3 separate regions of the Homo sapiens genome follow, and regions 1 and 3 are each linked to region 2. Evidence: promoter capture Hi-C in human tissues and cell types (Jung and others, 2019). All regions are on one chromosome and are shown on one strand. The core of a region is centred on a gene start or on the middle of the fragment in contact, and the rest is flanking DNA. Distances in the headings are between cores, read along the strand shown. Region 1 overlaps ANKRD11 (ankyrin repeat domain containing 11). Region 2 holds the start of ANKRD11 (ankyrin repeat domain containing 11). Region 3 overlaps ANKRD11 (ankyrin repeat domain containing 11).

The links. The method cuts DNA at HindIII sites, captures the fragments that hold promoters and counts their contacts. A contact is called where the count stands out against the background at its distance.
Region 1: a contact is called between a fragment that was not itself captured here and the fragment with the promoter of ANKRD11 in region 2, in 2 of the 25 tissues and cell types used here (adrenal gland and dorsolateral prefrontal cortex).
Region 3: a fragment that was not itself captured here is called in contact with the fragment with the promoter of ANKRD11 in region 2 in 10 of the 25 tissues and cell types used here (IMR-90 fibroblasts, adrenal gland, dorsolateral prefrontal cortex and 7 more).

Annotation. Positions count from the first base shown.
Region 1 is chr16:89,376,993-89,380,465 of GRCh38, reverse strand. The region is part of intron 2 of ANKRD11 (ankyrin repeat domain containing 11); the gene reads left to right. All of the region lies in intron 1 of LOC128462377, which reads left to right. Among named protein-coding and RNA genes, the nearest start is that of ANKRD11, 110 kb to the left of the region's middle. The HindIII fragment of the contact is 8,223 bases long and covers 1-3,473 here.
Region 2 is chr16:89,488,725-89,492,203 of GRCh38, reverse strand. It overlaps ANKRD11 (ankyrin repeat domain containing 11), which reads left to right and starts at 1,643. Exons shown (of 13, transcript NM_013275.6): 1 at 1,643-1,959. LOC101930112 (a long non-coding RNA gene) reads right to left here and starts at 1,234. Exons shown (of 2, transcript XR_933895.4): 1 at 818-1,234. RefSeq lists silencers at 924-973, 1,094-1,183, 1,384-1,863, 2,438-2,487, 2,568-2,677 and 1 more and enhancers at 2,069-2,583, 2,584-3,097. The HindIII fragment of the contact is 15,043 bases long and covers 1-3,479 here.
Region 3 is chr16:89,408,660-89,412,218 of GRCh38, reverse strand. The region is part of intron 2 of ANKRD11 (ankyrin repeat domain containing 11); the gene reads left to right. All of the region lies in intron 1 of LOC128462377, which reads left to right. Among named protein-coding and RNA genes, the nearest start is that of ANKRD11, 80 kb to the left of the region's middle. RefSeq lists an enhancer at 860-1,129. The HindIII fragment of the contact is 9,369 bases long and covers 1-3,559 here.

The DNA.
Region 1 (3,473 bases), core at 181-2,680, 110 kb after region 2:
GGCTCAGGGAGCTCTAATCCACTTAGGAGAAAAGGAGTTAAAATGGCATCATTGGGCTGGGCACAGTGGCTCACACCTGTAATCCCAGCACTTTGGGAGGCCGAGGTGGGTGGATCACCTGAGGTCAGGAGTTTGAGACCAGCTTGGCCAACATGGAGAAACCCCATCTCTACTAAAAATACAGAATTAGCCAGGCGTCGTGGCACATGCCTGTAATACCAACTACTCGGGGGGCAGAGACAGGAGAATTGCTTGAACCTGTGAAGTGGGTGTTGAAGTGAGCCGAGATCACGCCATCGCTCTCCAGCCTGGGTGACAGAATGAGACTCTGTCTCAAAAAGAAAAAAACAGGCATCATTGTTTTGCAACTGGGGTACCAGAAATAACATCTTTCCATAGTGAATTTCTGGTGGCAGAGGAGCTTCATATATACCCATTGATACTTGGACCTGGACTGAAGCTTGAGGGGTTTGGAGATGCAGAAAATAGTGTTTGGTAAATAGAGATGAAAGTGTGTGTTTTGAGAAATGATGATTGGAAAACTGAAAAGGTCAGTGTCTGCAGCCATGTATTTCTTTCTAAATTTTTTATTTTTCTGCATTTTCAAAAATTATATTTTTTGGGAAATTATTATGTATACTCTTCTTGCTGAACAGAATGTTAAAAATACAGCTGACATCTTCTTTGCCCGTTGTACTCAGTCCAAGTTCTTTGTGAATCACAAGAACCAACACGTTCTTCGCAAATCCGTGCACTGCACGGAGCTCTTCCGTGCTGCTTGGGGCGCTCGCGTCCCAGTCACCTGGAGGTGGGAGGCAGAGAGCAGTGGTGGAGCAGAAAACTGTAAGCTCAAGTTGGAGCCAGGAGGCTGAGGCAGAAGTGTCACTTGAGCCCAGGAGGTTGAGGCTGCAGTGAGCCGTGACTGAGCTCTGTCTGGGCGACAGAGCAAGACTTTGTCTCTTTAAAAAAATGTTCAAGTTGGACTCCTGGAAAGCAGAGTTACATGAGCTGGTTTTGGATGCCCTGACAGGGTGTGGAGCAGGAGGCCCCTGTGGGCCTGTTCCCCATGGTCAGCTTTCGACATATAATGAAAGCCCCGTTCACTGGTAACACTTGATTTGAGCCATTTAAAATTATTTTATAAAATTGTTGTTCCACTTAGGAACTGGCACAAGGTCTTTGTGAGAAAGCCCTAAGTTTTCAAGATAGGATTAAAAAAGCATGAGCCTGTGACGCACATACAGACGGTGTGCACCCCTTCTAGCCCGCCGGCTGCCAGCAGCTCCCAGAATGGCCGTGTGCCGGGGCAGGCATGGGGGCCGGCCCCACCTTCTAGAAGCCAGTGAGAAAGGCCTTCCTGGGGCTGGTCCGCACTGCCGACGTTCTGGGCATGGACGACCCTAAGTTTTCAGTTCTAAGCGACAGTGAATGCCTCAGCCCGGCTTGTCTACGACTGCAGGAGGCGTCTTGACGCTCCCCAGTGTGCCGTCAGAACCTTGACCCAAAAAGGTCTTCAGCCTTGGAAAGCCCTTCCCACCTCGCCCCACCCACCAACCCCTGAAGAGGTTTTCAGCCTTGGAAAGCCCTTCCCCACCTCGCCCCACCCATCAACCCCTTAAAACATGGATAAAAGAGTTTTAAACCACAGCGCCTGAAGTTTGAGACCAGCCTGGCCAACATGATGAAACCCCGTCTCTACTAAAATACACAGACAAAAAATTAGCCAGGCATGGTGGCACACACCTGTAATCCCAGCTACTCGGGAGGCTGAGACAGGAGAATTGCTTGAACCCAGGAGGCAGAAATCTTTGTGTACACCAGTGTCTTCAAACAAGAGAAGCTACTTGAGCACTTGCTAGTCATGCTGGCCAGTTGTGTGTTCTCAGCCAGACTATTTCCAGCCTGCTGTATCTGTAGCCTTATAGCACGTACATTTAGCTTAATATCTTTAAAGCTCTACGTTTTTGCTATTTTCTGAGGAGGTTTTTGTGGTTAGGCTTCAATGCCATGATTTGAAATTATTATCAAGAATTACAAATCAATATTGACCTAATCAATATGGTTGACATACACGTTGATGAAATCATTATATATGTTTGGTCCTTGAACAACTTGGGGATTAGTGGCACTGACCCCTGGTACAGTCAAGTCCACATATAACCTTTTATACCCCGAGTATTTAATTTTGTTGACCAGTGCCTTCCTGATCACATAAACAGTCAACACATTTTAATCCAACACTGACATATACAAAGCACTTTTTTTCCCGCTTCTTAAAGAGACAGAGTCTCGCTTGCCATGTTGCCCAGGCTGGTCTCAAACTGCTGGGCTCAAGTGATCCTTCCGCCTCGGCCTCCCAGTGCACTGGGATTATAAGTGTGAGCCACCATGCCCCTCATATTTTATATGTCGTATGTATTGTATACTGTATTCTTACAGTAAAGTAAGCTAGAGAAAAGAAGGTGTTGTTAAGAAAATCATAAGGAAGAGAAAATATGTTTACTTCTCATTAAGTGGAAGTGGGTCATCATGAAGGTCTTCATCCTCATCATTTCATTGAGTAGAAGGAGGAGGGGTGGTCATGCTGTTCTCATGGGGCGGGGGTGGAAGAGGTAGAAGGGGAGGCAGGAGAGGCAGGCGCATTTGGTGTAACTTACGAAGTGCTTTGTCATTTCTCTAGAAATGTTCCTGTATGGTCACAGTCCTCCCTCACTGTTGGCTTTAGTTTCAGTGCCCATGTCACAGACAGGTGTGTGTTGTACAAGAAGTTAAAAGCGGGTGGGAGTCGTGGGAACCCCTCCCCTCTGCAGGAGTGTCTGATGTCACTTTGTTTTCTGTCACTGCTGCTACCTCCTCCTCGTCACCTGGTGTGGGTCAGAAGCACTCATCACCACCAGGTTGTCTTCTAATTTCTCTGGTGTGGTATCTCTTAGCTCTTGAGTTTTGAAATGAAACCCTTCATCCCTCCCCGCCCCCCAGCCCTCCTGCCCCGGCCCACATGTCCGCAGTCTCTTCATGATCTCCTTGATTGGCTGTTGTAAACCCTGTGGAATCACACACAACCTCCAGACATAGTTTTCTCCAGCAGGAGTTCATTGTTTTGGGTTTGACAGCTTTCATGGCTTTCTCTATAACAATGATGGCATCTTTCATGGTGTCATCTTCCAGACACTCATGATGCTCTCTCTCTCTCTCTCCCATGTTGACAGTCCTTTCCATAGCATGCTGTGTGTAATGAGCCTTACAGGTCCTATGACCCCGATCTAGAGGCTGAATTAGATACGCTGTGTTTGGGGACAGGAAGACCACGTTGACGCCTCTGCTGTTGAACTCACGGGGTTCTGGGGGACCAAGGGCATTGTTCATTGTCAAAAGAACATTTAAGGCAGTTCCTTACTGGCAAGGCAAGGTACTTCCTGACTTCACGGACAAAGCATCAATGGAAGCAGTCCGGAAAAAGGGGTTCTTTCCAG
Region 2 (3,479 bases), core at 394-2,893:
TGGAGCCCGAAATCTGGCTGCCTAGAGAAGGCTGAAGGTCCAGTTATAGCATAACTAATGTTTCCCCAGAGCTCACATACGTGCCAAGCACCGTGCTACAGCCTCCACAGCCCCTTCATTTAATCTTCCCGATGGGCCTATGAAATAGGTGCTCCTGGCCCGCACCGTGGCTCATGCCTCTAATCCCAGCACTTTGGGAAGCTGAGGAGGGAGGGTCGCTTGAGTCCAGGATTTCAAGACCAGCCTGGGAAACACACAGAGAGCCTATCTCTACGAAAATTTAAAAAATTAGCCGGGTGTGGTGATGCCTGACTGTGGTCCCACCTACTTAGTAGGCTAAGGTGGGAGGATCCTCTGAGCCCGGGAAGCTGAGGCTGCAGTTAGCACTGCACTCCAGCATGGGCGACAGAGTGAGACCCTGACTCAAAAAAAAAAAAAAAAAAGAATAGGTGCTACTTGTAGTTCCCATTTTACCCACCAAGAAACTGAAGATCTGAGAGACAAAGCCTACAGGGTGACCGCTAGTCACTGGTAGGGCTGGGATTTGAACAGGGGCGGTTTAACAACTGATCTCTCGACCATAATGCGTGTTGCCCAAGAAAAAAGACCGTCCTCACGGTCCTATCCACTCCGGACTTTGCAATTCCGTTATTTCGTAAATTGAGGCCTATAAATAGTTTGCTTACCCGTTGTCTTAGTCCCCAGTAACATGCAGAACTAAAGAAGAAACTGAAGGAGCACCGATTTTGTTCACCTTGCTTTTTGGTTTAGTTCTGGAGGAGAACACAGGTGCACTTAGAACAGGATCCACACTTACCAGAGGCTTGATTCATTTTAGCTGCAAAGAAAACCAGTCCTCGTCTACCTTTTTCGCGTGTTGGAGAACTAACTAGCAAGGCAGGGAATGCGGTTCGTGGGCGCTTGGCCTCCTCAAGCGGCTCAGGCTCTCAGAGCGCGAGGCCCAGGGGCTCTGGAGCCGCGGCCGCGACGCGCCCGAGGGCCGTTCTCTTCGACGGCAGAGCAAGAGTCACCGCGCGGGAGCCCCGAGCGACCGCCCCGCTGCCCCGGTACCCTCCCCTCGCAGCCGCCCAGAGCTCTTCATGCCCCGTGACGCCCGTTAGGGCAGCGCGGCCGGAGGCCGGGCCGGACGTGGCCCGAGATGTCCGGGGGCAGGCAGAAGACCACGGGCACGCGACAGGCAACCGCCGCCTCGGCTCTAGAGGTGGACGTTTTGTCTCCCTGCGCTTCAATACCAGATTTTGTTTCCAGACGACATCCCTGTTGCTTCCGGCACTTGGAAAGACCAATCGTCAGGCCCGAGAATGCAAGACCCACCCTCCTTTGCGACGGAGGCAGCCAATCCAGTTGCTCGCTACTTCCAGTGTCGCATGCGCCCTTACGCAGGACCCTGCCCAATCGTTACCGGGACGTCCTCCTAGTCCCGCCTCCGGACCGCCAGAGAGGCTGTCAATCCCGCCTCTCTCCTTCACTCCATTAGCGCACTAACTCACGGCGCTGTGACGTGCACAGCCCCTGCGGCCGGCCGGGGCGGGCCAATGGCGGTGGCGGATACGGCGGGCCAATGGGCGGGAGCGTCTCATGCGGCCGGCTCCCGCCGCAGCCGCCGCTGGGTCCTGGAGCCAGAGGCCGCCCTGAGACGGTGCGCGATGGACCGAGGGCCCCAGCCGGGGAGGCGCCGCCGCCGAGCCCGCGGCCAGACGCCCCATCAGTAGCGTCCGCACCGGGAGCCGCGGCTCTCGCCCGAGCCGTGGGCGCGCCCGAGGGGCGGGCTCGCCTCCCGCCGTCCCTCGCAGCTCTGCCGGGCCCGAGCCCGCGCCGCCGCCGCCGCCGCCTTGCCGCTCGGGCCGCGCGGCCCGGGAAACGCGGCCGCGGGCTGCATGGGCAGCGCCCGCGCCCCGCCGCTGAGCCGTCGCGGAGCCGCGCAGCCCTCGGAGCACGGTGAGAGGCGCCGCTGGTCTGGGGGCGGTGGTCGGGGCGGGCACGGGGCATTCGCGCGGCCTTGCGGCCTGCAGGCCTTCCCCGGCGACGGAGCTGCGCCGCGGGCCTCCGGGCGGGCCTGGGGGGTCGGGGCCGGGTGGGCGGGGGTCTTTGGGGGCCCGGGGCGATCGTGAGGGACCAATAATGGGTCCCGGAGCGGGCCTACGGGTCCGGGTTCGGGGCAGCCGGGGGTCTTTGGGGGCCCGGGGTGGCCGTGAGGGGCCCATAGGGGGCTCCGGGGGGGGCCTGGGAGGTCGGCGGAGCTTGGGTCGGCCGTAAGGGGCGGACGGGGGCTCCGGGCGGGCCTGGGTGGCCGGGGGCCCGCGGCGGCTCTGAGGGGCCGATTGGGGGCTCCGGGGCGGGCCTGGGGGCCGTGGGGGCCCGGGGCGGCCGTGAGAGGCGGACAGGGGGCTCCGGGGCGGGCCTCGGGGGCTCGGAGCGGCCGTGAGGGGCGGACGGGGGGCTTCGGGGCGGGCCTGCAGGTCTTGGGGACCTGAGGCTGCCGGGAGGGGCTGCCAGGGGGCGCTGGCCGGGCGCCGGGTTCTGCGGAGCTGGGGCGCCGACCTCTGACCCGCGAGAGGGGCGCCTTCGCCGTGCTGGTCGTAGTTGTTATTCTCAGCGTCCCTATTATTATCGCTGTTTTGAAATGAGAGCAGGCGGCTCTCGGGCTCCGAGCCGGAGGGGGAGGGCGAACTGGGGACCTGGGGGCGTCGGGGTTGCAGGAGGCGCGCGTAGGCCGAGGAGGGGCAGGAATGCGGGCAGCCGTGTGGGGGGTGTTAGGGGGAGGGTAGGCGGGCGGGTGTGGGGGGTGGCTGGGAGGAAAGCGGTGGCGGTGGCGGCTGCAACAGCAGCCCTTGGCCTCAAGGAACAATGTGAGACGTTGCCTGAAATGTTAATTTCCGTTCCTCATTTCATCATCCCCTGGCAGGGCGGTAGCTGTGTGTGTGGTGTATGTGTGTGCGCGCGCGCGCGCGCGCGCGTGTGTGTGTGTGTGTAGGGTTGGCCCTGCCACATTGATTCAGTCCCCTCTCAAAGAGGGATTGTACTGTTAACTCTTGTGTTTGTGTTATTTGGGAAGGTTGGTCGGGGGGAGTCTTGATTTTTCTCGAGGCTTGCTCTTTTCCTGGTGCCCCATTAAGATTTTCTGCTTCTGTTGTGTTTTTGGAAGGTTAGTGTTATATATCAGCTTCCAAGAAGTTTTGGAAGAGGCTTGGGAAGATGAAGCTGGTCTAACAGCTCCCTATGCTTTGAAACTGTTTTCCTTCTATGTAACATGCTTAGGATTCATCGTTTTTGTAGATTATGAGTAGTTTTGTATCCTTTTGCAAGAACAGGGTTTTATGGTAGAGAAATTAGATTTCAGGCTTTCTTACATGAGGAGAGAGTTTTATGCAGTCATTAGAGCAATATCCTTAACACTTGAAATGAGAAATAAAAGTGTGCACAGTTGTTGAACTGCAAAACTTAGAGAATCTTTTGAT
Region 3 (3,559 bases), core at 158-2,657, 80 kb after region 2:
CCTGGCTGAGGGGAGGGATGGGGCACGGCCAGGAGACTCTGGGAGGCATCTCAGCCCAGTACCTGGCTGAGGGGAGGGATGGGGCACGGCCAGGAGACTCTGGGAGGCATCTCAGCCCAGTAGCTGGCTGAGGGGAGGGATGGGGCACGGCCAGGAGACTCTGGGAGACATCTCAGCCCAGTACCTGGCTGAGGGGAGGGATGGGGCACGGCCAGGAGACTCTGGGAGGCATCTCAGCCCAGTACCTGGCTGAGGGGAGGGATGGGGCACGGCCAGGAGACTCTGGGAGGCATCTCACCCCAGTACCTGGCTGAGGGGAGGGATGGAACATGGCCAGGAGACTCTGGGAGGCATCTTCGTTACTGGCCATTGGATTCCTCAAGTTCTGCTGAGAATTCTAGTCTCTTTTTTTCCCCACTCTAGAATAAGGATCTTAATTATTTATTTGTGTTGTCCATTGGGAAAAATGATTTGGGATGTGCTTACTGTCAACAAGGGGATAGTGGTGGGTTCCGAATGTAAACTGGCCGTAATCCCAGCACTCTGGGAGGCTGAGGTGGGAGGATTGCCTGAGGTCAGGAGTTCGAGACCAGCCTGGGCAACGTGGCAAGACCCCATCTCTCCAAAAAATACAAAAATTAGCCAGGCGTGGTTGTGTGTGCCTGTCGTCATGGTTACTCAGGAGGTTGAGGTAGGAGGATCTCTTGAGCTCGGGAGGCAGAGGTTGTAGTGAGCTATGATCACACCACTGCACTCCAGCTCTAGGTGACAGAAGGATTACAAGAAAAAGAAAAAAGGAAGAAATGTAGACCATCTCGACAGCAAGATGTGTAGCGTCTGGCCCAGCCAGGGCAGCCTGCTCCTCTTCCGGTGCAGTCAAGGTTTCCCACCGCTGTGTGCAGGGATTCTGAAGGCAGTGCTGGCTGCTGGCACAGGGCTGCAAGTTTGAAAGAGAAGTAGAGCAAAAAGGTCCCTGGGCCCCCGTGGTGGCACCAGCACACACGAGAGGGGATGTGGTGGAGGGCACCGTCATGGAGGCGTGGCCCTGGGTGTGGACAGCCAGCGTGGGCCCGAGCCCCTGTGCTGCTGCCTTCTGCCCTGGCCACCCTTCTCTCTGCAGGCAGCTTCAGGAACCTGCCTCCTGCACTGGCCGCCCCTCCCTCTGCAGGCAGCTTCAGGATCCTGCCTCCTGCCCTGGCCACCCTTCTCTCTGCAGGCAGCTTTCAGGAAAGCGCCTGTGGAGGCCGGGCAGCCTGAACATGTTGACTTTGGCAGCAGGAGCTGCCCAGCTCTGCTTATTCTGTGGCCCAGTACATAAGGCTCTGTGTAGAACACGTGTTCACGCACATGTGGTTTCTGTCTTGCCCTGGCCACAGTTGGCCACTCCCCACCCCCTTCTGTTAAGCTTCCCATGGGCTTAGAGGGCTCTCTGCCTGGGCATGGGAAAATAAGGGAAATGAGAAGCGAGGGTTCTTTGTAAATCCAAGGATGCTTTCATAGCTTTTGGTATCGTTGACGTTTTGCTAAATGGATGATTTATTTATTAGGAAAAATAAAACTGGGATTCTTGTTCATATCTGATGGTGTCAGCACGTCAGCAGGATAGCAACTGCTTTAGGGACCTGCTTGTGTCTGGAGGGCAGAACCAGAGCAGTAAGCAGAGGGCAGAGGGTGGCCTTTGTAGCCCGGGGGCAGGTGTTTCCCTTCCGTGGCTCTGCGTGGTTCCTGACAGCCTCAGCTCTGCAGGGTGTCTTAGTCTGGTCTGAGGGCTAAGACCATCACTCCCAACACCAGTGTCCATGAGTCTTTTTCTGTTTATTATCTCCATTTCCTTGGTACAGTCAGCCTTTGTTTAAAATTTATTCTTGCTTGTTTTTTGTTAGTGGGAAAAGTTTCTAAATATCAAATCCTGGTGGCTTACTAACTACAGCTTTTGGGGATGGGCTTGGTGATGATGTTATGAGGCTTTAGGTGACACTCAAAGGGCCGTACCCACCGGGTTGGCATCTGTGAGGTGCCTGCTCCGTGTGAAATTCTGCCCTGTAGCTGAACAGCAAACTGTGTTTTAAATTTAGATTGAGGCTGGACGCGGTGGCTCACGCCTGTAATCCCAGCACTTTGGGAGGCCGAGGCGGGCGGATCACGAGGTCAGGAGATCGAGACCATCCTGGCTCACACCGTGAAAACCCGTCTCTACTAAAAATACAAAAAATTAGCCGGGCGTGGTGGCGGGCGCCTGTAGTCCCAGCTACTCAGGAGGCTGAGGCAGGAGAATGGCGTGAACCCGGGAGGCGGAGCTTGCAGTGAGTTGAGATTGTGCCACTACACTCCAGCCTGGGCGACAGAGCGAGACTCCCATCTCAAAAAATAAATAAATAAATAAATAAATTTAGATTGAAATTGAGAAGTGAGCAGAAAGATGCCAGTTTAGATGTGATCAGATTTTGTTAAAGAAATCCTATAAAATGCCAGGATATTTTGGCCTAGTAATACTGTATTCTAAACTTCAGTGTTGTAATGGAAACTTTTAGTAACACGACAACCAGTTTTCGTGTGTGTGTGTGTTTTGGTACAACAGGATCTTGCTATGTTGCTCAGACTGGCCTGGAACTCCTGGCCTTAAGCAGTCCTTCCTCCTCTGCCTCCCAACGCTGTGTGATTACAGGCGTGAGTCGCAGCACCCAGCCTTTCCTGCTCTTGTGAAAAGCTAGCTGTCTTGCTCATCTCCCTCACACCTGTATGTTTTTATGCTGTGGGCAGGGCCGTGACGTGCACAAGACGACCCACAGGAAACCCTGGCTGCAACCCACGGAGGAAGAATGGCCTGAGGATGGGGACCGCCTTCCCACCCCACCCCTGTTGATAGGTGGATCTTGAACAGAGTTGTGTTGGTGGCTAGGAGTGCTAGAACCTGTGGGGGTTTGAGCTTTCTTGTAGCCTAGTGATTTATTCTAACACCAGGACTTGGTCTGAGTCCTGTGGAGGCGGGTGGAATTGCTGAGGGAAGCTGTCATCAGGTGTGTGAGCTCATCTCATTTCCTCAGACCGTCGGCTTCACCTAAAAAATCTGTTTTCTGCTCTTTGAGGGGCCTGATACCTGGCCCCAGGGCTCACTGGCCTGGGCCCCCAGCTTCCCTTGGCTGCTCTGGCCTTTTGTGCAGGTGGCTTTTCTGAATTCTCTGCTGTGGCTGTGGCTCTTTTTGGTTTTGCTCCCAGAGGCAGGGTTGGGGCCGCCTTTTCTGTATTCCTCCTACTTTTAGAAACCGCACTCCACAGCGGCCTGTTCACTTGTATTTCCCAGTAACTCCTAAGGTCTGTGAGAGGCACATGCTCTGCTAGATATCTTCACTTATGTTCTCTTTTTTTCCTACAAAATCCCAGAAAATTGCATTTTCCTTATTTTTATTACAAGAGGAATGTAGGCCTCAAAAGATGTTTAGGAAGTAGGGTTTGAATTCAGGATTCCACGGCTGATCAGTGAAGTGAGTGAGTGAGTCCCGGGGACTCTGAGGCCAGAGGTGGTTGTATTAGCGCTGGACTCTAGGGAGGGTGGCAGGGG